Linked DNA regions of Homo sapiens: regions 2, 3 and 4 are each linked to region 1. Evidence: promoter capture Hi-C in human tissues and cell types (Jung and others, 2019). All regions are on one chromosome and are shown on one strand. Each heading gives the region's core, a stretch centred on a gene start or on the middle of the fragment in contact. The rest is flanking DNA. Distances are from core to core; before and after follow the strand shown.

Region 1 (6,828 bases), core at 1,618-4,117:
ACACACAAAGTTAAATCCGCAGTTGCTGGTTTTAGTGAGAGTTGAGGTGGAGGAAGTAAAAGAACAACCTGGAGCCAGGTGTGGTGGCCCATTCCTATAATCCCAGCACTTTGGGAGGCCAAGATCGAAGATCACTTGAAACCAGAAGTTCAAGACCACCAGCCTGGGTAACACAGCAAGACCCTGTCTCTATTTCAACATGGGAACTGGTTTAGACATAAAATTAAATATACAGTATAAAGGAAAAGACAATGATAGACAAGTACTGGAAAGACAACCTTAACACCAATCTCATATAACTTGAATTGAATGTTGGGGTGAAAATCACCGTAACGGTAGTCCTAGGAAGGGAATATAGCCAGTGTGCATAAAATGAAAGATAAACTCTAGTATGGAAAAGGAATGCATTATCCACTCTTACACGAAGCCCCTGGCATGCAGATTGCAGCAACCAGCTACAGCTTTCTAGCAATAGAAACGGAATCTCAAAACAGGGAGGAGGAGGGAACAGTAGATGAAAAGACTTACAGAGAAGCAAAAAACCAAAGGGACACAAAAAGCAAGAGCACGCTAAAATAGGACCTCGTACACGCAGTGAAAAAAGGTGGCACAAAGAAGGGGAAGAATCAAGCTTCCACACCTCTCTTAGCTAAAAGGGGAGCTAGTCCCAGTGTTTGACCAGCCAGAGTAGGCCCTTCTATCAGTAAGTGAAAGAAGTGGGTGTGGGGGGAGGTGCTGCAAGAATAGTGGGGACAACACCAACTGTCATATTTACTCTAATCCTTGGTACCCATACAAAGTCACTAAAATCTAGAAAAGTAATGTTTTTTTAAAAAATTGCACCCAGAATAAGGGAGAAAAACGTCTTTTTAAGTTCTATAATCCCAGGTTATCAGTTGGCTTGCAACTCATGGAGAAATAGAAACCACAGCTGCTTAGTCAGAGTGTACTTTATCTTATACAATGCATGACACCTAAATTAAATAGGAAGCAGCACCTTGTTAAAACCATAGCATTTTAAAATGTGAAACTGAGTTTTACAATTGTCAAACTATATGCTCAAACTGACACAGCTGGGATGAAAAACCTGCTCTTTCCCTTTCACCGAACTGCCTGAGTGGGGCAGTAAAATTAAAAAGAAAAAACTTGGCCAGGCACGGTGGCTCACGCCTGTAATCCCAGCACTTTGGGAGGCCGAGGCGGGCGGATCACGAGGTCAGGAGATCGAGACCATCCTGGCTAACACGGTGAAACCCCGTTTCTAGTAAAAATACAAAATATTAGCCCGGCATGGTGGCGGGCGCTGTAGTCCCAGCTGTGCGGGAGGCTGAGGCAGGAGAATGGCGAGAACCCGGGAGGCGGAGCTTGCAGTGAGCTGAGATCGCGCCACTGCACTCCAGCCTGGGCGAGGCAGACCCCGTCTCAAAAAAAAAAAAAAAAAAGAAAAAGAAAAAACTACAGCCTGGCCGCGGTGATTCACACTTGTAATCCCAGCACTTTGGGAGGCCGCGCGCGGGGCGGAGGCCGGCTGGAGGGGAGGTAGCTAACTTGAGGCCAGGAGTTTGAGGCCAGCCTGGCCCACATAAGCAAAACCCCGTCTCTACTAAAAATATAAACATTAGCCGCGAGCGGTGGCTGCAAGTCTGTAATCACAGCTACTCGGGAGGCTAAGGGGGAAGGATCGCTTGATCCCGAGAGGCAGAGATTGCGGTGGGCAGAGATCGCGCCACTACACTCCAGCCTGGGCACACAGCGACTGTCTCAAAAAGGAAAAAAGGAAAAAAAAAGACAGAAAAGAAAAGAAAAAACTACAGAATAGGTCCCAGTCTGCAACCCTAACTGAAAAATATTAACAAATCCTTGCAGTAAGTGACCGAGCCTGTTGGCACCAGCCTGTAGTCCCAGCTACTTGGGAGACTGAGGTGGAAGGATCGCTAGAGCACAGGAGGGGAAGGTTGCAATGAGCCGGGATAGCGCCACTGCACTCCAGTCTGGGTGACAGAGCGAGACTCTGTCTTAAAAACAAAAACCAAAAAAACCCCAAATCCTTTAAGTGCGCTATAATGGTTAAGACTATGGGCTCTGATGCCCCACTGCCTGAGCCCCTAACTCCCTCAGTCAGCATAGCTGTGCGACCTTGGCAAAAAAGTTTCTCTACGGCTGTTTCCTCACCTGTAAAATGGGGGCAGTAATAGAAATCATCCAAACCCTTCATCGTACAGGTAAGAAAGCAGAGGCATCCAACGACTATTATTATAATCATGCTTTCATGGCAGTGGTACTTTCACGAGGTGTCTCGATTCCCTGAACAGGACTCTTTCCACTTAGGACCACATGGAGCGGTGAGGAAAAACACCCCGAGAACCACCTAGTGCTAGAGAGTGAATTAGTGACTTTCACATCCACTGGGGTCATCCAACCCTCCCTACAATCCCGAGAAATATGACCTCCACTTTAAGGATGCAAAAATAGAAAAGGAGGGATTGCAAGACTGCTTAAAGACCATGCAACTATAAAGCGATAGAACGGGAACTCGAACTCAGGTTAGATCGGCCCCACTTGACCAGACAGCCTCAGGGGCCGTGCACGGCAGTGTCCCCTATTTTTCTCTCCCTCCCCCGACGGCCAAAAATGGGGCTGCTGTCTCCGCCACCCTCTTCCCTCCAGTCACTTTCCCGGTTCTTCTCCCACTGACCCAGGTAAATCACAAGAGGGATAAAGCCCCAGCGAATGGCAAACTGGCTCCCCTTGAAGAGCTGCTGTAGTCTCTGCTTGGCCTCTTTGCTCAGCTTCACCATGGCGACGGCCGTGTGGCGCAGGGAGGACCCCTTACAGCAACCACAGCGTCGGGAATCCGAAAGGGAAAGGAGGTGCGCAGGCGCCACACACGGCCTTTACGGCAGGAGTCGTGAGCGTCGCCAGCAGAGGTCGTAATTCATCGCCTTTAACCTTCCCTGCTCTTCCGCCTCGCCGGCAGTAGTAGGCGCATGCGTGGTTGCGATCATGGCTGGCGGTAACTTCGCGTTTCTGTTACCCATTTTTAAAACGCATCTTCAGGTGTTCCTTCCTTCTCATGGAAGGAACATTAATTAAATTCAGAGGGACTGGGTTTTAGTCCTAACTCTTATTCCTACTGGCTGTGTAACCGTGGACAAATTATTTAACTTCTCAGAATCAGGTTGTTCAAACCTGAGGTTGAACTGCAAAAAGGTTACGAAGTGACACTCAGTAGGGCCCGAATCCATGTTTTCTTTGATCCCAATCTTTTTTAAAAAAATTTCTTTTAATTACTTGCCAACATTTTAGAATTTGGAAATCTCACATGAAATTCTGGACTTTTGAAGCTGAGGAATTCCATTGCAACAATCAAGGAGACTAAATAGGAAATGACACTTCTGTTTGGCCATCTTGCCCTCATTGGTTTAGAATGGCAGTGGTTCTCAACCCTGGCTGCACATTAGAATCACTTTAGGAGAGGTAAAACCATACTCACGCTGGAGACCTACTCCTAGAAATTCTAAAGAGTTTGGGGCTGGGAACTGGCCATTGATCTGCCTTTGAAGTTTCCCAAGTGATTCCCAACCTCTGATGTAATAAATTTCTGGCTGCTGTCGTATTTGAGATTTGACCCCCCCAGGTCTAAGACTTAATTGATTTTTAAGGCTGTAAGACATTTCTAAGACTTTGACTTTTAAGACTTTCCTGCCTCATTCTGAAGGTACGTAGTCGTTTTCTGTGCCCAATGTCTGTGCTCCTAAAAATTTCCCCTTGCTGACCTCTGTGGCTTGCGCCTGTAATTCTGGCTATTTGGGAGGCTGAGGCGGGAGGACCACTTGAGTTTGATGCTGCAGTGAGCTGTGATTGGGTCACTTGCTGTAAGCTCCCAAAGGGTTCACTTTGCCCGCTGCCTGGACAGAGCCGATTGATCAACACTGGGGAATTACAATAAAGAGTAATTCACGCAGAGCTGGCTGTGCAGGAGACCAGAGTTTTATTATTACTCAAATCAGTATCCCATAGCATTCGGGGATCAGAGTTTTTAAGGACAATTTGGTGCGTGGGGAGACAGCCAGTAAGTCGGAAGTGCTGATTGGTTGGGTCAGAGATGAAATCACAGGGAGTGGAAGCTGTCTTGTACTGCCTCAGTTCCTGGGTCGGGGCCACAAGATCAGATGAGCCAGTTTGCCGATCTGGGTGGTGCCAGCTGATCCATTTTGCAGGCTCTGCAAAGTATCTCAAGCACTGATGTTAGGCTTTACAATAGTGTTATTCCCAGGAGCAATTTGGGAAGGGTCAGAATCTTAGTTCCTGGGTTGGGACCACAAGATCAGATGAGCCAGTTTACCTATCTGGGTGGTTCCAGCTGATCCATTTTGCAGGGTCTGCAAAATATCTCAAACACTGATGTTAGGCTTTACAATAGAGTTGTTATCCCCAGGAGCAATTTGGGGAGGGTCAGAATCTTGTAGCCTCCAGCTGCATGACTCCTAAACCATAATGTCTAATCTTTTCGCTAATCTGTTAGCCTGTATACCAAACCTGCACATGCACTCCCTGAAACTAAAGTAAAAGTTGGAAAGAGCAAAAAAAAAAAAAGAAATAGTTTATGTTTTGGTGGAGCTCAGATAACAACAGCAAGGGACAATATAATGACTAAAAGCACAAACCAACTGTGTGATCTTTGATCAATTATTTAATATCTCTGAATCTCAGTTTCCTTACCTGTAAAATGAAGCCAACTATATATATTTAAATCCTTACAAAATTAGTAAAATAAGCTATAATGCACTGCAATCTTACAAATTCCTGTAAGGATTAAAAGAATTTTTTTAGGCAAGAAGGGGATTTGTTTAGGGAAAGGGCTGTTATCATCTTTGTTTTAAGCTATAAACTAAAAGTTCTTTCCAAAGTTAGTTCAGCCTATGCCCAGGAGTGAACAAGGACAGCTTGGAGGTTAGAAGCAAGATGGAGTTGGTGATGTCAGATGTCTTTCGCCGTCTCAGTTATAATTTTACAGTGGCAGTTTCATCACTACAATCCAGCCTGGGCAACAGAGTGAGACCACATCTTTAAAAACAAGAAAAAAAAATTCACCTCATATTATAGTGTTCTTCTGCTAGGCTCATCATCATGAATAATAACAACCTGTGTCTACTATGCCTGTCACTGTGTTAAGTGCTGAAAAATAGTTCTTTTTTTTTTTTTTTTTTTTGAGATGGAGTCTTGGAATGTCACCCAGGCTGGAGTGCAGTGGCACGATCTCGGTTCACTGCAAGCTCCGCCTCCCAGGTTCACGCTATTCTCCTGCCTCAGCTTCCCAAGTAGCTGGGACTACAGGCGCCTGCCACCATGCCCAGCTAATTTTTTGTACTTTTTTTTTTTTTTTAAGTAGAGATGAGGGTTTCACCGTGTTAGCCAGGATGGTCTTGATCTCCTGACCTCGTGATCTGCCCGCCTCGGCCTCTCAAAGTGCTGGGATTACAGGCGTTAGCCACCGCACCCGGCTGAATAATTGTTCTTTTAATCCTTACAGGAATTTGTAAGATTGCACTGCATTATAGCTTATTTTACTAATTCTTGTAAGGATATATATGGTTTCATTTCACAGATAAGGAAACTGAGATTCAGAGATATTAAATAATTGATAAAAGATCACACAGTTGGTTGCTCTTAGTCATTATATTGTCCCTTGCTGTTATCTGAGCTCCTCCAAAACAGAAGCTATTTCTTTTTTTTTTTTTTCTTTCAAACTTTTACTGTAGTTTCAGGGAGTGCATGTGCAGGTTTGGTATATGGGTAAATTGCATGTTGTGGGGGTTTGGTGCATAGATTATTTTCTCACCCAGGCAATAAGCATAGTACCTGATAGGTAGTTTTTGGATCCTCACCCTCTTCCCACCCTCAAGTAGGTCCCCATGTATATTGCTCCCTTCTTAGTGTCCATGTATTCAATGCAGAAACTGTTTCTCATCTTTTTATTCAAATACCTCATACATAGTAAGAATGCAGTGAATGTGGCACTTATCCTGCCAGATGGGCTAAAAATACCAAAGTCATTTGCCTTCCTCAAACATTCATTGAGCCTTATTATATGCTAGGCACTAGAGATATAAGATTTTTTTTTAAACTGCCCTTAAGAATATCATGGTTGAATGGAGAAACATGAGTAAACAGATGATTCCAATGTAATGTGAATATATATACTAAGTCCCACAATAAAGTTATGCTCAAAATTTGACAGAAAGGCAGAAGAAAGACAACTAACACTGCCTAGAGGAGTCAGGGAACTTTTGAAGAACCCCATGCAGTTAAACTAGAGAGAGGAGTAAATTTGAAAACCATTAAGAAGGTGAAATCAGCAGGACTTGTCGGCCAAATGAATATGTAGGGCAACATTGAAAGAAGTAGTCAAGGATGACTGTCAAGTTTTGAGCTTGTGTAACATACTGGGTTAATCTTACTCCTTGACCTCCACAAAGTCTAAATTATGTAGATTTGATCCAGGACAGGTGAGCCCTAAAGTGGGTCTTAGCCTGTGGGTTCTTGGCTTTACCCAGGGAAGAATTCAAGGCCAAGCTGGTGGTAAAAGAAAACAGCTTTATTAAAGAGGTGTTACAGCTCCATGACTGCTCCTGCAGATATAACAACTCAGGGCAGTTTTTCAGTCGTATTTATACCTACTTTTAATTACATGTAGATTAAGGCAGAGTTTATGCAGTAATTTCTAGGGAAGGGGTAGTAACTTTTGGGTTGTCATGTCACTGCCATGGAAAGGGGTGGTAGCTCCCCGGTGTTACCATGGCAACAGTAAACTGACATGGCACATAG
Region 2 (6,828 bases), core at 2,681-5,180, 52 kb after region 1:
AATAAATAAAATAAAATATATACACACACCATTGTGAGGGGTATTTAGTGCAAATTAAGACAAATCCTGCAAAGGACTAGAGGAACCAAATAGGACTGTGGAGGGAGGACAAAGGGGCAGGTGGGCCAGATCCATTGTAGACCAAGAAGTGTGGGAAGGATTAGGCTCTTAATTGCAGAAATGAATGTATTGCCAGAACAGTTTTTAAAAAGGTCACAATGACAACAATGAACAAAATAGCTAATGTTGACTTAAGTTTTACTATATGCCAGGGAGTAAAATAGGGCTTTACATAAACTATCTTATTTAATTGTCACAACATCCCTATGATATCACTTCTTTTGTTGTCCTTAATTTACAGATAGTGAGACAGAATGTGAATAAACTAACCTTGCATGGTCACACAGGTAATAGCCACAGAGGGGAAGGATATAGTTTACTCTATCTATCCATCTATCTGCTTGCATATCTATCTATTCATCCCTCATCTAAATATGTATCTCTACTTATCTATCTCTCCAAATACATATATTTTATTTATGCAGTGAGATCTGGTGGACTTTAATTGCAAAATAACTTGAGAGAAAAGAGAATTAATTATAAGAAGTACAGAAAAAGAAACAGAGCAGAAGCAATTCCTGGACTGTGCTGTACCAGGCAGATGGGCAATATAGTCAGTATGCAGTGTTGGCTCTTTCTTTGGGAGAATGAGGTCATATCTACTGGCAAGGCCCCCTTCCCTTTATTCCCACTATACTGCTTGGGAATTTCTGATTTAAAAAAAATACTGTTGATAACAGAAATGACCAATTCATCATATTGTCTTGACCAAAGAGCAGCTCATACTGTGACACACTTGCCTCTCTAGTATCTCTGGGGAGGATGTTCGTAAGTGAGATTGGAGGAGTAATCGCCCCCCAGGACCGTGGGATAGGTTGTGCACGTTGTATACTGCACAGTCCCATGGGGGTGTTAGTCTCTCTGAATGGAGTCCCCAGAGTTATGCAGTGCACAACCTGTGTATAAGGCAGCCCTGCCTGCCCCCACCAATAAGATCAGCCATATGAACTGCATGACCAATGGCACAGCTGGAGCCCTCTCATTTGTCACTGTTTCTAGGCACATTTGCAGATAAAATGTTGAGATTGTGATCAGATTATGATCAGAACTTTCAAGAGTTCTGGAAAGAAGAGTTCTGGAAAGAAACACTGACATAAAGGAGAAGAAAAGAACAGGAACTCCCTCTGAGTTTGCATAACTTTCAATGTTCACAGCCTCCTGTTGCCTTTCTAGGAGGTGCCCTACTGTGTATTGCTGGGGTCGTATAGCCAATTGGCGAACTAGCTGATAAACCCTGGACAGAAATAGAAACTACAAGAAGTGAAACAAAGTTCCATCCAAGAATGAAACAACAACTGATCACGTGAGATGCCCATGTCATCACTTGACCCACAGACAGGGGAGCAAATATATTGATGATCTGGTCCTCCTGCCGGACTGTTGGTATTCATCCCTGTAAGTGAGAGGAAGGAAACATTGCAACTTAATGGGTGAGTCCTTCCTTCTGGTGAATTTAACATCATGCATTTGCTAGATTTGCTAGCCATGCAGTTATGGTGAAAACAGGAAAGATCCCTTTGGGTTTAACTATAGATTAGCCATAGGATTTGCAACCAGGAAAAGACCTTCAAGATCAATTCTATTGGAACATGGACAATTAACATAAATAAACTGAGAAACAGACAGACTGTGTTACTTGTAGCTAATTATTTTAACTCCCATCTCAGCACTCTTTCCCAACACAACCCATTATCTTAACAACTATAATAGTACTAACAGCCATTATTATAACCAACATGTTTGTCGGGGAGAAAGGTGACAAGAGGAGGGTAGAGGACAGAATTAGTTGAACACTTACTCTGTGCCAGGCGATAGTTTTAAGCTTTCTACATCTATTCATTTCAATCCTCACAACAACTCTTACAGGTCAATAGTGTTTCCCTTTCACAAGTTAGGAAACTGAGGCACAGATAGGTGATTTTATTTGTTCAAAGTCACAGAGAGGGCACATGGCTGAGCTGAGATTCAAACCCAAGCAGTGTGACTATGAAGCTTATTATCTTAACTATTCCACCATCATCGAAGGATATATTTACAAGATTTTTTAATTGTAATAAATTCTGTGCTTTATCTTTTTTTAAAAAAAAAATTTAATTAACAAAGAATAGGAAGACTTTCTATTCTTCACCCGGAGATGGACGATACCATGTTACTTGGCTTTTATCCACATAGCTGTCTTATTTTAGGTGCTGTTATTTGAACCAGAGTACATCCAAATAAGTGTAGTTTAAAAGAAATCATGATTATAAGGGGTTCCCAGTTTTTGCAAGGCATGATTTCTATAGACTCCTCCTTAATAGCTTCCTTTATCTTGGCCATCCGTGCTCACAAACATTTTCTAGCAGAGTACCAACCGCACAAATAGAGAGTAGGATGAGATCTTCAGCTTTAAGTTGGCAACGTGTATATATCTCAATGTGAATGATCCAAGTTTTGCAAATGGGAGAAAAAGCAAAAATGCCAGATTCTTTCATTTAACTCCATTATTTAAAAAATTGTGTTTACCTTTATTATCAATGATAATTGACAGTTACGCTTGAAAATGAATTTTTTTTTTAAAGTGGAAGCTTATCACTGGCCAGAATTAAGAAATATAAATCTTTTTTTTTTTTTTTTTTTTTTTTTGAGATAGAGTTTTGCTCTTGTTGCCCAGGCTGGAGTGCAATGGTGCGATCTCGGCTCACCACAACCTCCACCTCCCAGGTTCAAGTGATTCTCCTGCCTCAGCCTCCCAAGTAGCTGAGATAACAGGCATGTGCCACCACAACAAGCTAATTTTGTATTTTTAGTAGAAACAGGGTTTCTGCATGTGGTCAGGCCATTCTCAAACTCCTGACCTCAGGTGATCCACCTGCCTCAGCCTCCCAAAGTGCTTGGATTACACGTGTGAGCCACCCCACACAGCCTTCTTTTTTCTTTTATAGAGACAGTGTATTCCTGTGTTGCCCAGGCTGGCCTTGAACTCCTGGCCTCAAGCCATCCTCCCACCTTGGCCTCCCAAAGTTCCAGGATTACAGCCATGAGCCACCAAGCCTGGCCAATAAATATTTTAATTTATTTATTTTCTAGGCCTAAAATTGCCAAGGTACCTCTGTGATACATTTTGAGAAGCTTCTCTCCTAAAAGTACAGCCTATATATATATATATATATATATATATATATATATATATATATATATATATATATTTTTTTTTTTTTTTTTTTTTTTTTTTTTTGAGACAGAGTCTTGCTCTGTTGCCCAGGCTGGAGTGCAGTGGCGCGATCTCAGCTCACTGCAACCTCCACCTCCCGGGTTCAAGCACTTCTCTTGCCTCAGCCTCCCGAGTAGCTGGGACTACTACAGGCGTGAGCCACCTCGCCTGGCCTATATATTCTTTAGATAATACAGTACCAATCATTTTTTAGGCACTTCCTACATGCAGACATAGTGTTAAGTGCTTTCCAAATCCTATATCTTATAGAATCCTTCCCAAAGCTGAGCTGTGTGTGTGTGTGTGTGTGTGTGTGTGTCTTTATTTCCCTCATTATACAGATGAGGAAAGTCACGTAACTTGCCCTGGAGTATGCATCTAGTAAGAGGCACAGCTGATTTTAGCTGAATTCAGACTCAAACCCAGGTCTCATTGACTCCAAATAACATATTCTTAAAGGCTGTTGTCAGCCTCTCTCAGAGCCCTGATTGCCTTGTCAGCTCTCTACTTCTCAGCTGATTAGAGGATCAGTACCCAGGGCGGTACCACTCACCAACCAGCTGGCCTCTGTTGTCACCCGTCAGCTCACGATCCAGTCCCTCTGGATGGTGACGGTCAGCGCCGTGCCGGCCAGGTTTGCCAAGGCCACTAGGGTGGTCACCAGTGCACAGCAGGCCACCTACCGAAGGAGGGGAAAGGGTGTATGGAACCCAAGAATAGATTTTCCCGCCCCACTGCAGTGCATAAGGTTATTTATCTGACAGCTCAAGGAACATCTAAATGAACACAAAGACCTGAGAGAGAAAAAGATTCAATGTAGGTTTGGAGCCCAATTCTACTGTGTTAATGCTAAGCATTTTCTTCCTCCCACCCCATCAGAGCCAGAGCCGATGCTAATTTGCACCTTGCAGACACAGACTCTGCTGTTCTATTGCCTTCATGTCAGTGGGATTTCAGCTCAGACTCACAAATTAGGGGAGAGGAGGACACTGAGGAAAGATTAGCCTGATCCAAAACCAGTGAGCGTGGCCACAAAGAAAACACTAACTGGTGGACATTCAGGGTGTCTGTGACGTAGGGACATGGGAGACACTCACAGTGAGCCAGCCATCCCAGATTTGTTCCATCTGCCTCTTGTAGGGGAGCACAAGCATCAGGACAGTGCAACAGGCGGTGACGGAGGCGTTCTGCATGCAGAGCGAGGTATAAGCAACTGTGAATGGAAACACCCAGCCCAATCTCTACTCTCAGTTTTAACAGGCAGTTCACAGCTATATCATCATTTAATGCAGAGGAGGCTGGGTGCGGTGGCTCACAACTGTAATCCCAACACTTTGGGAGGCCAAGGCGGGCAGATCACTTGAGGTCAGGAGCTCCAGACAAGCCTGGCCAACATGGCAAAACCCTGTCTCTCCTAAAAATACAAAAATTAGCCAGGCGTGATGGCACACACCTGTAATTCCAGCTACTCGTGAGGTTGAGGCACGAGAATCACTTGAACCTGGGAGACGGAGGTTGCAGTGAGCTGAGATTGTGCCACTGCACTCCAGCCTGGGTGACAAATTGAGACCCTGTCTCAAAAAAATAAAATATAATAAAAAATAATGCAGAGCAGTTGCATTAGACCAAATCCCAGTGCAACCAGGGTTAGCATTTCCATCGGTGATCACAGGCTTAAGAGGCAAAGAGCAGACTCTTGAGCTCACTAAAGACAAAGCCTTTGCAACCAAAAGAGAAAAAAGCTGTACTTTGCAAGTGAATGAAAACATATCTGAGAGACGGATCATATGAAAAGCTGGATTCTAGGTAAGTCAAGAAACTTAAAATGTTCTAGTGCTACATCACACTCTTCTGGATTTAATTTGTAACTGAATTTACCAATTTAGCGTAAAGACCAGCACACCAGATTTTCAATCAGCTAGTCTTTTCAATGGTGTGGCTTCAGAGAATGCCTTTCCATGGTAGAAGGAGAAAAGTCCTACCTTCCATGGTAGAAGGAAGGCAGTCACGTTGACTAGAAATCAAGGAATAGGAAAAACTTAGGATAGCCTACATTCTTATTGGACAAAGACGCTTAAAGAGATAGTATAGCCCAAAGCTAAAATAGATCTACATTTGAACAAATAAGTCTCCAGATATTAATGACTAGTTTAGACAGATTACCCAGTACAAAAACTCATTTACACAAATAAATTGCCTCTGATAAAAACAACACAAGTATATTATGCATAGGTAATGCCAAAATATTAAAAAGAAAGCACTTTTCAGGAATTTGATATTAAAAACCTATACTTAGCAAAAATCTAAAAACTACATTAAAATATTTTACATGTAGAATCAGAGAATGATGACACAAAGCTGTATAACTTCATCTAGAGTTTTTAACTTATGCTCTTTTGCTATTAAGTTCATAGCAATTTATGAATTTTATTTCACTAAATAAACCAAAAAAGCCAGTGAAGTCATAATGTACCACATAAATATGTATGTCACAGTTAAGAGTGTTACCTTTATTTCTTGGTTTCTTTTCAATCCAATCACCAATTAAGACCCCAAATATTAATACATATCCAGCCACCACTAAGCCAAACACTGCTGATAAAAGCAGATTATGTCCATATAATTCTACCAGGAAGACAGACATGGCAAAGTGCCACATTTGATCTCCCTGCAAGGCAGTACAGGCAAAGCATGTTTTCATCATTGACCTAAAAGATGGATCAAAGTTAAAATCCAGAAAGATGCATTTCTCCCCAGGGACATGTAATATGCAGGATTACAAGACAGAATGTCAAAATTATACTTTTATGCAGTACATCTATAACTTTATTTTTGTGCAATATAGTTATAAATTTTAAAAGCTGGAGAGAATGTATTTTAAAATCTTAAAAGCTCCACAGAGTCAACAAGCTAATGAGAAAATATCAGACAAACACTTGGAAGAACATGAGACCTCCAAGAACAAAGCCCACAATGCCCTGAGGACATCTGCTGATTCCGAAGCAACAGCTGTGAAATACAACAGCAGGTTTGTTGTCCTCAGAAAGACAGACTATGGAAGTCCATGCTACCAAAGATGGGGACTGAGATAAACCAGTTCCCATTTTAAGCTGAGATTCCCATGTAATTACATCCTAAATGTAAGCAAGGGTAAACCTGAAGTAAACTGACCCTCACATGGACTTGTAGTCCAGTTCTGCCTCATCCCAATGGGCCAGGAAATCTCAAACCTTGAACATGGATTAAAGTGTTACCAAATGACTAGTGTCCACTATGCATCTGGTAGAAGCTAGTTAAAGTTATCTCTAAAGGAAGATGCCACCATCTTAGGCTTCAAAGTATTCCTACAATAATAATAATAAAATAAAAATTTTATAAAATAATATACAAATTATTATCATTATTATGTTGAGACTGGATCTCACGCGTTCTCCCAGGCTGAGTGCAATGGTGCAATCATAGCTCACTGCAGCCTCAACTTCCCAGGCTCAAGAGATCCTCCCACCTCAAGCCTC
Region 3 (6,828 bases), core at 1-2,500, 35 kb after region 1:
AAAAGGGAAAAAGCTCTTGGTAAATGGATAATACTACTAAGCCAAGAGAAAGACAGGATTTTGAGTGAAAACATAAATTTAGATGTCACAACATTACTAAAGCAACAGTGTGTAAGATACTGGACGATTTTATTTACTTACTTGCACAGTTTTTGTAAACAGTCTAGACAGTACTGTATTTTGCTATTTAGTAATACCTACTGTGATACTTCTTTTACAGGTCTGGCGCTTGAAAGAATCAGTGAAGCTTTTCAAGTAGAGGAGGTATATTTGAATATGTAACCTTTAGTATCTACAGAATAGAGGTTGCTTTTTTTTTTTTTTTTTTGTCCCTTTCACAGTGGTAGCAAGGTTGAATTTTGAGATGGCCCCAATCATCTATAGGAATATTATTTGACAGTTTTGGAGACACAAAACTGCCTTATAGCTGACTTGATCCTGTAGAACATTTCTGTGGAATTCAATTCTATTATTTAAGGTAGTTTTTCCATGAACCAGCTGTGGTCTGTAACTTGACAGTGTTAATAAAACAAGTAGCAATACCTTCATCATGGTTCACATGGTCAACAAAGATATGACTTAACTCTAAGATTGTTATTTTACAGTATAGTCTTTTTTTTTTTTTTTTTTTTATAATAGATAGTTTCACTCTTGTTGCCCAGGCTGGAGTGCAGTGGTGCAATCTTGGCTCACTGCACCCTCTGCTACCCAGATTCAAGCGATTCTCCTGCCTCAGCCTCCTGAGTAGCTGGGATTACAGGCGCGTGCCACCACACCCAGCTAATTTTGTATTTTTACACATTTTTGTTTGTTTGTTTGAGACGGAGTCTCACTGTCGCCCAGGCTGGAGTGCAGTGGCACGATCTCAGCTCACTGCAACCTCTGCCTCCCGGGTTCAAGCGATTCTCCACCTCAGCCTCCCGAGTAGCTGAGATTACAAGCTAATTTTTGTATTTTTGTAGAGACAGGGTTTCACCATGTTGGCCAGGCTGGTCTCGAACTCCTGATCTCAAGTGATCTGCCTGCCTCGGCCTTCCAAAGTGCTGGAATTAATAGGGGTGAGCCACCATGCCCGCCCAGTATATTCTTTTTTTTTTTTTTTTTTTTTGAGACGGAGTTTTGCTCTTGTTGCCCAGGCTGGAGTGCAGTGGCATGATCTCAGCTCACCACAACCTCCACCTCCTGGGTTCAATCAATTCTACCTCAGCCTCCCGAGTAGCTGGAATTACAGGCATGTGCCACCACACCCAGCTAATTTTGTATTTTTAGTAGGGATGGCGTTTCTCCATGTTGGTCAGGCTGGTCTAGAACTCCTGACCTCAGGTGATCAGCCTGCCTCAGCCTCCCAAAGGGCTGGGATTACAGGCGTCAGCCACTATACCCAGCAGTATATTCTTAAATATTACTGTTGAGCCATATATACGACAATGGTGGACTTTGAATGTCCGCACATCTGTAGTAAAATGCAATGCTACCTTCATTTTTTGTTGGTATGCTAAAGAAATTTTAAGTATCTCACTTTTAAAAAAATAGGTTTGTGTATTTTATGTGCTTACACATTTTTCCATAGTACTGTAGATCATTTTAGTGATGAAATTTGATACTTTTGACAGAAAAACAGGTCAGTGAGTTCCTTGGGATCAAAAAGGGGTTGATTACAAGGGCAGGAAGGAATTGTTAGTGTGATTCTACAGTTCTGCATCTTGATTATGGTATGACTGTGCGTTTGTCAAACCTTAACAGGATGAATTTTGCTGAATGTAAAATCATACTTCAATAAACATGACTTTAAAAACTTAACCCTCCTTGGCATTTCAGTGGTGTTTCCAGTGAAATCTATGGCAAGATGGTTTGGGGTCACTATCTACATGAACTGCCAAGTTGGAAAATCAAAAATACATCAAAATCACTCTTGGGACATAAGTCACGGAAGTGACTCATGCACACAATAAATACCCAAGAAGCAGGACCAGACGGCAGTTGTGTATTGGCACGCTCATCAGTGCTGCAAAAATTCCCCTTCTGGATGGCAACAACAATGCTGTATCCACAGCAGCATTTTAAATCTCACCTCTGATGTATCCATTGTTGTGGGCATGAGATGGCAGAAAGTGGGATATGGAAAATGTTGCCGTGCGCCATTCCGAATACTACTGTGGCTTCCCTGCAGCATTACTTTCCATATTGGCTGTTTTCCATTTCAGGAAAGCTTAGGATGTCCTTGGTAAATACTGGCTAACCAAGAAATTTGAAAAATGAAAGGAGGCTGAGTAATTGGTCTTGGGTTGAAACGGGGTGATGCTGCATAAACTACGTGGTTGACTCTGAAAAGCTGGCTAAAAAGCCAGTCTGCATTCCTTGTCCTCATTTCCTTGGAGTAATGAAGGGTGCTTCTTAGAAGAGGGATAGATTCAAGTATGGGTTGTGAGTCATTCTTCTTTTCTGTATGTAATAGGTCTAACCACAGGGCCTGTTGAGCCCTGCCCTGGTGACCAAGAGCATTTTCTGACATGAACAGAGTTAGGCCATCTTGCCCGTATGAGCAGAGTTCTTCAGATGTCCCTTAGGATTCTAGGTTTCATACCTTCCCTGCCACTCCCCCACTACCAAATCCCCTTACCCTATAGCCTAGCAATGCAGAGTTGTCCAATATAGAACCTCTGTTAAACATAGCATCACCCAGGAAAATGGGATGAGTGGTTGCAGTCAGTACCACAGTTCTGCAGAATCAACTTGCTTACCTTAGTACATTGCCTGTCTACGTGTTTAGCAGAGCTAAAAGCAGGAATGGACTGTTAAACTACCATCCTTTTGTGCTCAAGTGCCATGAAGAGAAGCAAACCTGGAGTTGAAAGTTTTCAAAGAGGGCTTCCAAGTGAGGAACTTGGGCATGTGAATCTTTAATTATGACTATAAAAGAAATTGTGATTGGAAATAGAATTTTTATGCTAGTGGTTATGATTTCATTGAAAATAGGAAATCTTATTTAAGAACTCTGGTCACAAAACCTCCCCAGATAGTGACGTAAATAAGACCCAGTGTAACAACTGTGGCATTGACATGTCAGTTCATGTAGATTGAGTCACAATTTGATTTCGAGAATGGCCATATCCCATTTTGTCTTACTCCATGGTGTTCCTGAGCACTTGGATACAAATAGATTCTGTTTCCTAAAAGTAGCCAAATCTTTGTAGTTCAAGTGAATATTCCAGACTAAAATATGTGTCTTTTTGAAGGTCCTTAAGCCTTACATACTTAATTGTGTAATTTGGCAAATATTTGCTGTTGTGTTGTGTCAAGTCCTGTGATAGAGACAGTTCCTACCTTTCTGGAGCTTTCACAGTGTGACTCATTTCAGTACGTAAGTCGGAGCCAGTTTTAATAGAATGTTCTCTGGTTGACTTCTGTTGTAAGGAATAATTTCATTTCATGTCTGGGTCAATATGTGAAAGATTAAATTATTAGGGCAAACTGAAAAAAAAAATCTAGTTTTACCCCCCCACCACCACATTCCCAAAATAATTTAGCATGGTTTATAACAAATATCAAGCAACAATAATTAGAAGCAGATAAAAGCTCAGCAAGTAGAGGGCAAGAATAAAAAACCTAACTGTTAGATCTCATGCTGTAGGCTCCAGCCAAGTTGTCTCTGAGCTTCCTAAGAGCAAAGAGCCAACTGGCAAGTTAGTAATCAGGCAATTGCCATAATTTTCTAATGGAGGAGGGGAGTGGTCATGTGCATTCTAAGCTCTTTAAAGCCGAGGAGTAAGCTTTCTTTCCTTCATGATCTCAAGTACTCTACTTTGAAGAAAGGAATGGAACAGAAGGTGTCTGCATAACTAAATGGGGATCTAGAGAAAGTGGAGACTGCCTCTGGAGCAGGGAGGTGAGTGGACCAGATCACTGTGGGCCTGGGCCTACTCAGCTGATTTTCAAGCTAAAACCAGGGGTAACTTTTCCTCTTGAGACGAAAGCCATGCTCACATTCTGTGAACAGCCAGAGATGTGTTCGAAAGGCTTACTTTTATTTTGTACTAGAAAAGATTGTCTTTCCAAAATTTACCTCGTATTCATAAACTGGAAAGTTCTGATGGCAATATTTTGTTACAAAATTGTCATTAATCACAATCCAGGATTATGCCACCATGACTAGAAGGCCCCCTAATGGAGTTTATCTGCACTGCAAGGGGCCAGTTGTCTCAGAATCATCCTCCGTTGACATCTCCATCTCCAGGACAGCTCCACACTAATCTGTTTCAAAGACAAAATCCAGTCTAATCAGTTTGATGTATGTTTCTGGGAATAGAGCCGAATGTTGTAGCTGATGGAATGGAGTCTCATACCATTGATTTTGCAGCTGGACAAGTGCCCTGCCATGTTACTGCCACTCTTTAAGGCAGAATAGAGCACATTGTATCATTTATAGGCCTCTCACAGTGAGAAATATGTGGAACTTTGGAAATCAGAATCTAAAACTGCAGTCCAATGGGGTAGCCACTATTCACATGTGCTATTGAGTACCTAAAATGTGGCTAGACCAAGTTGACATGTGCTGAAGGGTGAAAAACACCAGGAGTGAAGAATTAACTTGAAAAAAATGTAAACTATCTCAATTTTATATTGATTACAAATTAAATGATGTTTTGAATATATTGAGTTAAATGAAATACATTTTTTAATGATACATGATGCGTATTATATTTCTGTTGGACAGTACTGGTCTAAAACAGTTGATTCACTATCCAGTAGAGAGAAAGGTATTGCTGTTTTACCATATGTGACCTTCAGGGAAAAGAAGAATAAAATTAGCACTTGAAAATGGAAAAACTTACAGATAAGCAGCTATTATTTGAAGGGCAGAAGGTGCAGGGGTACTCAGCACTACTTAGAAGATTTGACATAAATTCTATACTCAAGTTGCTAGTACTTCTGGAGATTTTAAATGAAAGACTTCAGAGTGTATTTAGTAAACACTCTGCTATGCCCACTCTACAAGCATCTGTGTGTTCATTAATCAAGAGCAGGCCAGGTGCAGTGGTTCTCACAGTGGCTCCCACCCAGCACTTTGGGAGGCCAAGGCGGGTAGATTGCTTGAACTCAGGAGTTTCAGACCAGCCTGGGCAACATGGCAAGACCCCATCTCTAAATAAACGTAAAAAAAAAAATTTTTTTTTTTTTTTTTTTGAGATGGAGTCTTGCTCTGTCACCCAGGCTGGAGTGCAGTGGTGGTCTCGGCTCACTGCAACCTCCACCTCCTGGGTCCAAGCAATTTTCCTGCCTCAGCCTCCCGGTAGCTGGGATTACAGACGTGTGCCACCATGTCTGGCTAATTTTTGTACTTTTAGTAGAGACAGGATTTCACCATGTTGGCCAGGCTAGTCTCAAACTCCTGATCTCAAGTGATCCACCCACCTCGGCCTCCCAAAGTGCTGGGATTACAGGTTTGAGCCACCATGCCTGACCCCAAATTTTTTTAGTTAAGAGCAAAAGGACTTGGTATGCTACATCTCATCAAAATGCAACTTCCTTAATGAAGAACCATATAAAGGATAGTTCTAGTTTCTTTTTTTTTTTTTTTTTTTTGAGACGGAGTCTCGCTCTGTCACCCAGGCTGGAGTGCAGGGGCACGATCTCGGCTCACTGCAAGCTCCGCCTCCTGGGTTCACGCCATTCTCCTGCCTCAGCCTCCCAAGTAGCTGGGACTACAGGCGCCCACCTCCACGCCCGGCTAATTTTTTCTGTTTTTAGTAGAGATGGGGTTTCAACGTGTTAGCCAGGATGGTCTCGATCTCCTGACCTCATGATCCACCCGCCTGGGCCTCCCAAAGTGCTGGGATTACAGGCGTGAGCCACCGTGCCCGGCCAGTTCTAGTTTCTTGATCCCTGATCTTAGTGTGTGTGTGTGTGTGTGTGTGTGTGTGTGTATACTAAAGTGTCTTTCAGGGTTTTGGTTTTTTGATTTTTTTTTTTTTTAATGGAAGGGGAGAGATTGTGGGAAGTGGCACCATAAATCTTACCTTGTATAAAGCACTCTTTTAAAAAATTACCTTATGTTAAGCAAAATGTTCCATAAAACTCTCCTTTTCCTGTCTTCACTGTGTGCTTTAAAAAACAGGTCTGTGTAAATTCTCTTGTAGTTTTGTTGCTACTAATAATGACATTTTGTCTTTTTGTGTTTAACAGTAATTGAATTCTTCCCTTAGTTTTCACATTTCTCTTAAGTAGTTGTTCTTAATAGTGACTGGGGATGGTGGGGAAAATGTGTCCCCCTCAGGGTGGACAAACTGGGAAAAGAACCAAAATCCCACACCCAATGAATTGAGACCAAACATCATTGACCACACTCCACCTCTCTAATTTTAACATTGACCAGAATATTCTAATTTTATTTATTTATTTATTTATTTATTTAATCTTTTTAGAGATGATAGGGTCTCACTCTGTTCCCTAGCCTGGAGTGCAGTGGCACCATCATAGCTCACTGCAGCCTTGAACTTCTGAGCAGTCAATCCTCTTGCTTCAGCCTCCTGAGTAGCTGGGACTACAGGCACGTGCCAACATGCCCAGCTGATTTTTTTAAAAATTTGTAGAGATGGGTTCTTGCTATGTTGTTCAGGCTTGTCTCAAACTCCTGGCCTAAAGCGAATTTCCCACCTGGGTCTACCAAAGTGTTAGGATTACAGGAGTGAGCATGCACCCAGCCAATACTGACTAATTTTAAAACCTGAAGAACAATAAGAACCTGAAAACATTGAGTTATTATATTGGCAAAAGCAAAACAAGCCCCTTTAAGATGTCTGGGGTGGAATCTCTGACTGGCTAATGAGT
Region 4 (6,828 bases), core at 3,100-5,599, 38 kb before region 1:
TAAAAATCTTTGTGCTGTTTTTGCAACTTTGGGTAAGACAAATTATTTCAAGATGAATATTTCTAAAATAGAAAAATTAAATAATGGCACATTCACACAGTGATTATGCAGCCATTTAAAAGGTTTGTAATTATTCTGAATGACACTGGAAAATGTTCACTACATAGCATTATTGGGAGAAAAAAAACAAAAGCCAGTTCACACACTGAAAACTAAAGCCCAGAATGAATCCACTAAAATCTTGAGAGGACATTTCTAAGTAGAAGATTACAGATGCTATGTTCTTAATTAATTTTTTAGTTTCATATTTCCCAATTTTTTCTACCATGAGCATTCACCACTTTTAAAATTGGGGGGAGGATGTTATTTTTAAACACACATCATGATTTTGCATCAAAAAAATTCATTTAGACATATTTCTTCTCCTTGGTTTTAATAAAGAACATTTTTTCAATGCTTTGAGTTTTCAAAACTATGATTTTGATAAGCCAACAATGAGCCTTAGCTTAAGTGAGTTTCTTAATTTGGCATCAGTAACCAAAAATGCTTAATGGTTTCCCTAACTACTTGGAAATGAATTCTTGGCACTATGTCTTCTTAAGTTCTGTGGGTCTCATGTTGAAACAGTTGCTTCATTTCCACTAAATAATTGGAACTATTCCCTGGGTCATCAGAGAAGCTCAAACCTATGCGCATCTGAATCTCAGTCAACAACAGAAGGAAGAGGAACCTAATAATTTCTCCTCAGCCTGTCACAAATCAAGAGAAGAATGCATTTGTGCTGAAGACCGGGAAATTAAAAAGAAAGCAGATTTTGCTGGGAGGCAAGTCAAGGTGGCCACCAGGAATCTTAGACCCCTCGGCTTCAGATGACCATCTTCTGAGTAATCAGGATGTTTAGCAAGGCATACTTGAGGGGGCGTAAAGCATGGCTCCTATCTCAAAATACCTCCTCTGTGAGGTAATGTACGTGACACTGCTGTGCACTTGTGTCTGTTCCTTCCATCCAGGCACTGGCCAAAAAAGCTGTATTTGCTTGGCTCTGGAAGAATTTTTAATTCCAAAATTTATCGCCCCCACTCCTACCATCAAAGTGCAATGTGTCATCTACCAACATTTCACTAAGCAAGTAATTCTAGAACAGAACTGGTTGCAGGCCCACCAGAGGACAAACAATGTGGGGAGCTGGATTCAGAAAGCACTACAGATGGGCACCTTGAAAAGAGAGGTGCAGGACTCCTGCAGCAAGTTCTGCCAAGCCATGGTCCTCTCTGGTGCCATCCTCCTTAGGCGTTCACCACTACCTGCTTGCCAGCATCAGCCTGCCTTCTCAGGGTTATGAGTACATCCCCTCCTCCATGCCATAAGCATTCCCCTAACCCCATGCTGACAAGCTCAATGCCAGGCCCCAGTTCATCTTTCCAGACTTCCAGCTCCCTGCCTCAAAGCCCAATTCCAGCCACAGTTCGGAGCTTTGTACATTGTTGCATCCTTACTTAGCTTTCAACCGCAACTGTATCCCTGCCATCTCTACTTCAATGTTATCTCTGCAGGCCAAACATAACCCACCAGCTGCCAAGGCATGCAGTACCACGCTCAGCCCATCGCTACCCGCCTGGACCCTTGTGGCCTCACCACTTGCCTCCTGAGCCTTCTGTGCCCCTCCCCTGGCCCACCTCCACCATCTGCCTTCTACACTCTGCCTGTCAGGGGCCCAGTCTCCCCACTAGTTTATACCATCTCCCATGTTCTATTTTTATTTGTGCTTGCCCTTGTTCCAGAAAAGACAAGACAACACATACTATAGTCCTACCATGTTTTCTCAGGTGGGCTTCTTAACCCATGTGGCTTCTCATTCTATTTGCCCTATGAAGCACAGGGAATCAAAGACAGCGTTTCTCTGTGACATCAATTCTCGCGCCATCTAAGACAGGTCAACAGTAATGGCAGAGGCCTTCCTCGTAGCAAAGGGAAAACAATAGCAAACCACTGATGTTGAACTACCAGCCAGAAGCCAAGTGAGATATTAAGACAGCAAAGCCACCAGCACCAGGACAGGAGCTCATACCTCTTACCAGATAGATGCTGCTCTCCCACTCCCCCTGCTGGACACCGAGGTCCTGGGGCGATGCTTCCAAAGTCCACAGTCCCCAAATGATCAGACACCCATGTTTGCCCCAAGAGGTGTAGACTAAACGTTAAAGAGAAGCCACACTTGCTAATCTCATATTTAATTATCTTCAATGCCAAATTAGAGAAATGGAGTACCCCTCAGTGGAAAAAGGTAGGTGCTACTTGTTAGGCAGACTGGCTGTGAGCCCCCATTCTGTCACAATCTAGTTAGGGTATTAGGAAAGTTGTTCCAAGTGTCCCTGGGCCTTAGTTTCCCCACCTGTAAAGCACAGGTGACACTACCCTCCCCATATGGTTGATATGAAGATTAAATGAGATAAATTGCAGGCATCCAATTGTTATTGTCCACACCGATTGGCAACTAAGCTCTTGGCACACAATCTCTTGGCACCCCAGTGGCTTCATCTATGTAATTCCAATAATACCTGCTCAGCCTACCTGTGAGACTTGGCTGGGGCAGATGAGAGAACAGATGTTTGTCAAAGCACTCTGTAAATCATTAAGTGCTATGCTAATTCATCAATGACAACAACACCTGTCTGGCACTTTGAAGAGACACAGATGACAATGGTAGTTTTGATCTTTGTGGAGATTTGGAAATTTGTGGATGAAATAAGCATGCATGAGAATAACTGTACTTCAAATAGGAGATTGACTGCCATATTAGTAATAAAGAAAAATAATAATAGGAATGAAAAGAAAAGAAAATTTGATTTGCCTGAGGCAGAGGGTCGAGCAAGAATCACAGATGACCTCATGAGTGTCTCATGCTGCAGCAGGTCATAAAGACAAGTAAGATTGCTGTCAGCAGAGATGAGGAGAGGGCCTCCCAGACCCAAGAAAGAGTGAGGGCCACGATGCAGAGGAATGATGGTTCTGGGGATATGAAGAACTCCAGCTTGACCGCACCCTGCGATGAGGTGCCACAGTGGAGAATGGGGTTATGAGGACAGGTTGGGACACCATAGCGTTCTGTGAGATTGAACATGACAGCCAGGCAGTGCAGAGCCATCTAAGCTTTGTGAACAGCATGTCTGAGGAAGTTTACCAAAGACAATGTGAAGGCTGGCATGAGATGGGGAGAACAGGGGCAAATACAGGAAGGAATCATGATTGCCAAAGAGAGATGGGGGCCTGAAGTGATTCAGGATGCACAGGGGAAAGAAGAGATCAAAGGAAGGGACAAATATAAATGGAAGGTATTACGACCATAGTGCTCATGACAAAGAACCACATTTATCACTCAGTTCCACATGTACCAAAGGAAAATATCAGAAAGATGTCATGAGCTCAAATTAATAGTGATCTTTGGTAATTTACAAAAGGATAGAAGCAGTAAGATGAAGTAACACAAAGCACGTCTCTTACAGACTTCTAGAATTAACAGGGAAAGTAGGAGATGTGGTGCAATTACTTATCATCTGGGTAGGTGAATTTCAGGGGAAGAAAATCTCAGCAATATGCATTTAATCAACATATACTTTGATATCTGCTTTTGCCTAAGAAGTTCAGTAATGTCTTACAAATTGTGTTATGTTTCAGCATATCAAGTTCTGCTTGTAGCTCACTCACAATCATCCAGCACAATGGGGAATTTATCTTGCTGGTATTTCCAGGGAGACTGGGAAACAGCCAGTACAGATCAAACCTTTTCACATCATCACACTATTCACTCTACTGGTTAGAGATAACAAAGACAAACACAATAGGGAATGGTCAATTTATAGCAACAAGGACGAGGCTCATGTTTCTTCAGCATACTTCCTAACATGTCAGCAGTAATTACCACATATTAAAATAAGCCAGACTGGGCACAGTGGCTCATGCCTGTAATTCCAACACTTTGGGAGGCCAAGGCAGGAGGATCACTTGAGACCAGATGTCCAAGACCAGCCTTGGCAACATAGCAAGATTCCATGTCTACTAAATAAATAAATAAAAAATAAATAAATAAATAAATAAATAAAAACAAATAGCTGGGTGTGGTGGCATGTACCCATAGTCCCAGCTACTCTGGAGGCTGAGGCCAGAGGATCGCTGGAGGCCAGAAGTTCAAGGGCCCTGTGAGCTATGATTACAGAACTGCACTCCAGCCTGGGTGACAGAGTGAGACCCTGTCTCTAAAAACAAATAAATAAAATTAGCCATTTCAGTAAGCATATGCTCCCAAATTAAGAAACCTTGTTCCTTATTCCATGACAACTTCAGGGGAAAACATATTTTTCCATTTTTTGGAAGTTTTAAGACATATATGCTCAATGTAGAAAATAAAACCAAAAATAAGAGCATCCTCTGGTGTATGCTAAGGTTGTAAAAAAATTAAAAAAAGAAAGAAGAGCTAATATCCTCCAATATACTATGATTAAGATCAATATTTACTCATTGTTAATCTTTGGGAATACTTCCTTCTAGTTTTATTTCTGTGCTTTTTAAAGAAACATGTTGGCCGGGCGCGGTGGCTCACACCCATAATCCCAGCACTTTGGAAGGCCGAGGCGGGCGGATCACGAGGTCAGATCACGAGGTCAGGAGATCGAGACCATCCTGGCTAACACGGTGAAACCCAGTCTCTACTAAAAATACAAAAAAAATTAGCCCAGCGCGGTGGCAGGCGCCTGTAGTCCCAGCTACTCGGGAGGCTGAGGCAGGAGAATCCCTTGAACCGGAGGCGAAGGTTGCAGTGAGCCGAGATCGCGCCACTGCACTCCAGCCTGGGCGACAGAGTGAGACTCCGTCTCAAAAAAAAAAAGAAAAAGAAAAGAAACATGTTAAGATTACATTATATTTGAAGCTCTGAATTCAGGGCTAAAAAAAAATTAGACTACAAATATGTTGCATTCTTGTATTTTGTTTTGCTCATCATAACAAATATTTCTCCCATTGTTGAAAGCTGGAAGACTCCACTCACAATCCATATTTCTTTAACAAGACAAAGAAGCGAATGTGTATTAATTTAGTAGTGTAATGGGGACTTCCAGTTCCCAGTCCAACATTTAAAGAGCTTGGAAGTCATTGTTCTCATCTTCACAACAAAATGACCTTGTGTAATTCCCTCTTGAGTGTGGGATGGATCTAGTCACTTGCTTCTAATGAATCAAATATGGCAAAAGTGATATACCACTTTTGATATTAGGTTACAAAAGACTGTAACTGACTTCTGTCTTGCTAAATATCTCCCTCTCTTTCTCTCTGGTTCTTTTTGCTGGCTTGTTCTGATGCAAGCAAGCTGCCATGCTGTGAATTATCCTATGGAGAGGTCCACATGGCAAGGATAGAGTTTAAAATCAGCAAGGGAATTCCCTAAATCTGAGGTTTGATGTTTTCATTAATCCTGAAAAAAAATCTCAGTCATTATTAACAAAGGGCATAGGCCAGGTATAAGATTCCAGTTGTCCTCTCCCAATGGAGTTGCACAGACAGTGCTAAATTCTCCCAGCAATGATGTGTGACAATAGATGTGAAGTGTTGCCTACTAGAAAAGCTCACCCAAAGGTTGGTATCCAGGGCTTTTATGGAGTAACCACATGACTAACCTTAACAATGTAAGTCTCTAGTTGCCCTCAGAGGTCAAATTGGTAAGGCAGTGGCCTAGGCCCTCAGGCAAAAAAACAACAAAAACAGGTGTTCATCTTAAATTACATTGTTAATATATAATATCCAGAAGGGCCCATGGCCTCAGGTATACAAATAAACTCTCATGGTGGGATTTTACAAGGGCTTGGAGCTTATCAGCAGGTGGTCAAAGTCCGGTCCTAAAGACATTTGGAATGTGTGGTGTTTGGACAACCCAGGCCTGCTGCGTTAACTCTTTACTGCCATCTGCCATCCTGCCTGCCTTTACTGACAGGAAGCCATCAAGGAAATAGTTGCCTAGATAGCAAAGAGCTCACCAGATGGTACTGGAATTGGGTGCAGTGCTCCCTGGTGCTGTGTGCCCCTTCCCTATGCAGGCAATATGCCCTCAGTAGAACATGTGCTAGAATATGGCCATTCAAGCAGGAAGGGCATCAGTGTTCCTAGCAACGTGGCTGAATAGTCCATCAGTGTGAAGATCTTGCAGGAGGTTCAAGCCCAGGTAAGGTGTTAGGTAGAGTGTGAGTTTACTGCCCTAGAGTGGCAGTGTGATGCAGAGAAATAAATTGTAGGTTTAGAATGAGGACACCTGATCCTGTCATTTTTTCCAACTGGCTTTAGGACCCTCATCTGAAATATTTTCCTATTTATAGATGGGAGGCAATATTGCGTAGCAAGCAAGAGTGCTGGCAGGGCAAGTTCAGTGGGAAAGCAACTTGCGCAGGCACAGAGAGCCCTGTACTCAAAATAACCCTAACCACGGTTTAATGCTCTGCTGTCACCATCTTGAACAATGTTCAAACAAGGAGCCCCATATTTTTGTTTTTCACAGGGCCCCATAAATTATGTAGACTCTCCTGGTGCCAGGTCTGGAGTCAGCCTATGGGTTCAAATCCCTGATCTATCATTTTTAGATGTATGAACTAGGGCATAACATCTAATACCTTTTAGACTTGTTTCCTTGTCTATAAACAGGATTTTAAAAGATTGTTGTGAAGATTAAGGAAATAATATATGGAAAAATATAGCGTTGTATATACATAAATACAGTCATTCCTCAGTATCCATGGGGGATTAGTCCTAGGACCCCCTCAGGTGGCAAAATCCATGGACACTCAAGTC

What was found. Contacts are between HindIII fragments. The study calls those that stand out against the background at their distance.
Region 2: a fragment that was not itself captured here is called in contact with the fragment with the promoter of TOMM7 in region 1 in 5 of the 25 tissues and cell types used here (aorta, hippocampus, liver and 2 more).
Region 3: a contact is called between a fragment that was not itself captured here and the fragment with the promoter of TOMM7 in region 1, in 2 of the 25 tissues and cell types used here (hippocampus and psoas muscle).
Region 4: a fragment that was not itself captured here is called in contact with the fragment with the promoter of TOMM7 in region 1 in 2 of the 25 tissues and cell types used here (IMR-90 fibroblasts and spleen).

Annotation. Positions count from the first base shown.
Region 1 is chr7:22,819,982-22,826,809 of GRCh38, forward strand. TOMM7 (translocase of outer mitochondrial membrane 7) reads right to left here and starts at 2,868. Exons shown (of 3, transcript NM_019059.5): 1 at 2,696-2,868. The coding sequence starts at 2,798. LOC112267993 (a long non-coding RNA gene) reads left to right here and starts at 2,976. Exons shown (of 3, transcript XR_002956543.2): 1 at 2,976-3,718. RefSeq lists enhancers at 2,349-3,109, 2,779-2,858, 2,889-3,098. The HindIII fragment of the contact is 34,135 bases long and covers 1-6,828 here.
Region 2 is chr7:22,871,201-22,878,028 of GRCh38, forward strand. LOC107986776 (a long non-coding RNA gene) reads right to left here. Exons shown (of 5, transcript XR_007060249.1): 4 at 4,411-4,526; 5 at 3,491-3,992. Among named protein-coding and RNA genes, the nearest start is that of SNORD93, 18 kb to the left of the region's middle. RefSeq lists an enhancer at 1,429-1,538. The HindIII fragment of the contact is 6,914 bases long and covers 474-6,828 here.
Region 3 is chr7:22,856,753-22,863,580 of GRCh38, forward strand. SNHG26 (small nucleolar RNA host gene 26) reads left to right here. Exons shown (of 5, transcript NR_146320.1): 3 at 221-264; 4 at 3,795-3,886; 5 at 4,134-4,684. Among named protein-coding and RNA genes, the nearest start is that of SNORD93, 3.6 kb to the left of the region's middle. RefSeq lists an enhancer at 1,758-2,957. The HindIII fragment of the contact is 3,477 bases long and covers 1-2,989 here.
Region 4 is chr7:22,780,709-22,787,536 of GRCh38, forward strand. No RefSeq gene overlaps it. Among named protein-coding and RNA genes, the nearest start is that of TOMM7, 39 kb to the right of the region's middle. RefSeq lists an enhancer at 1,336-1,836. The HindIII fragment of the contact is 7,103 bases long and covers 799-6,828 here.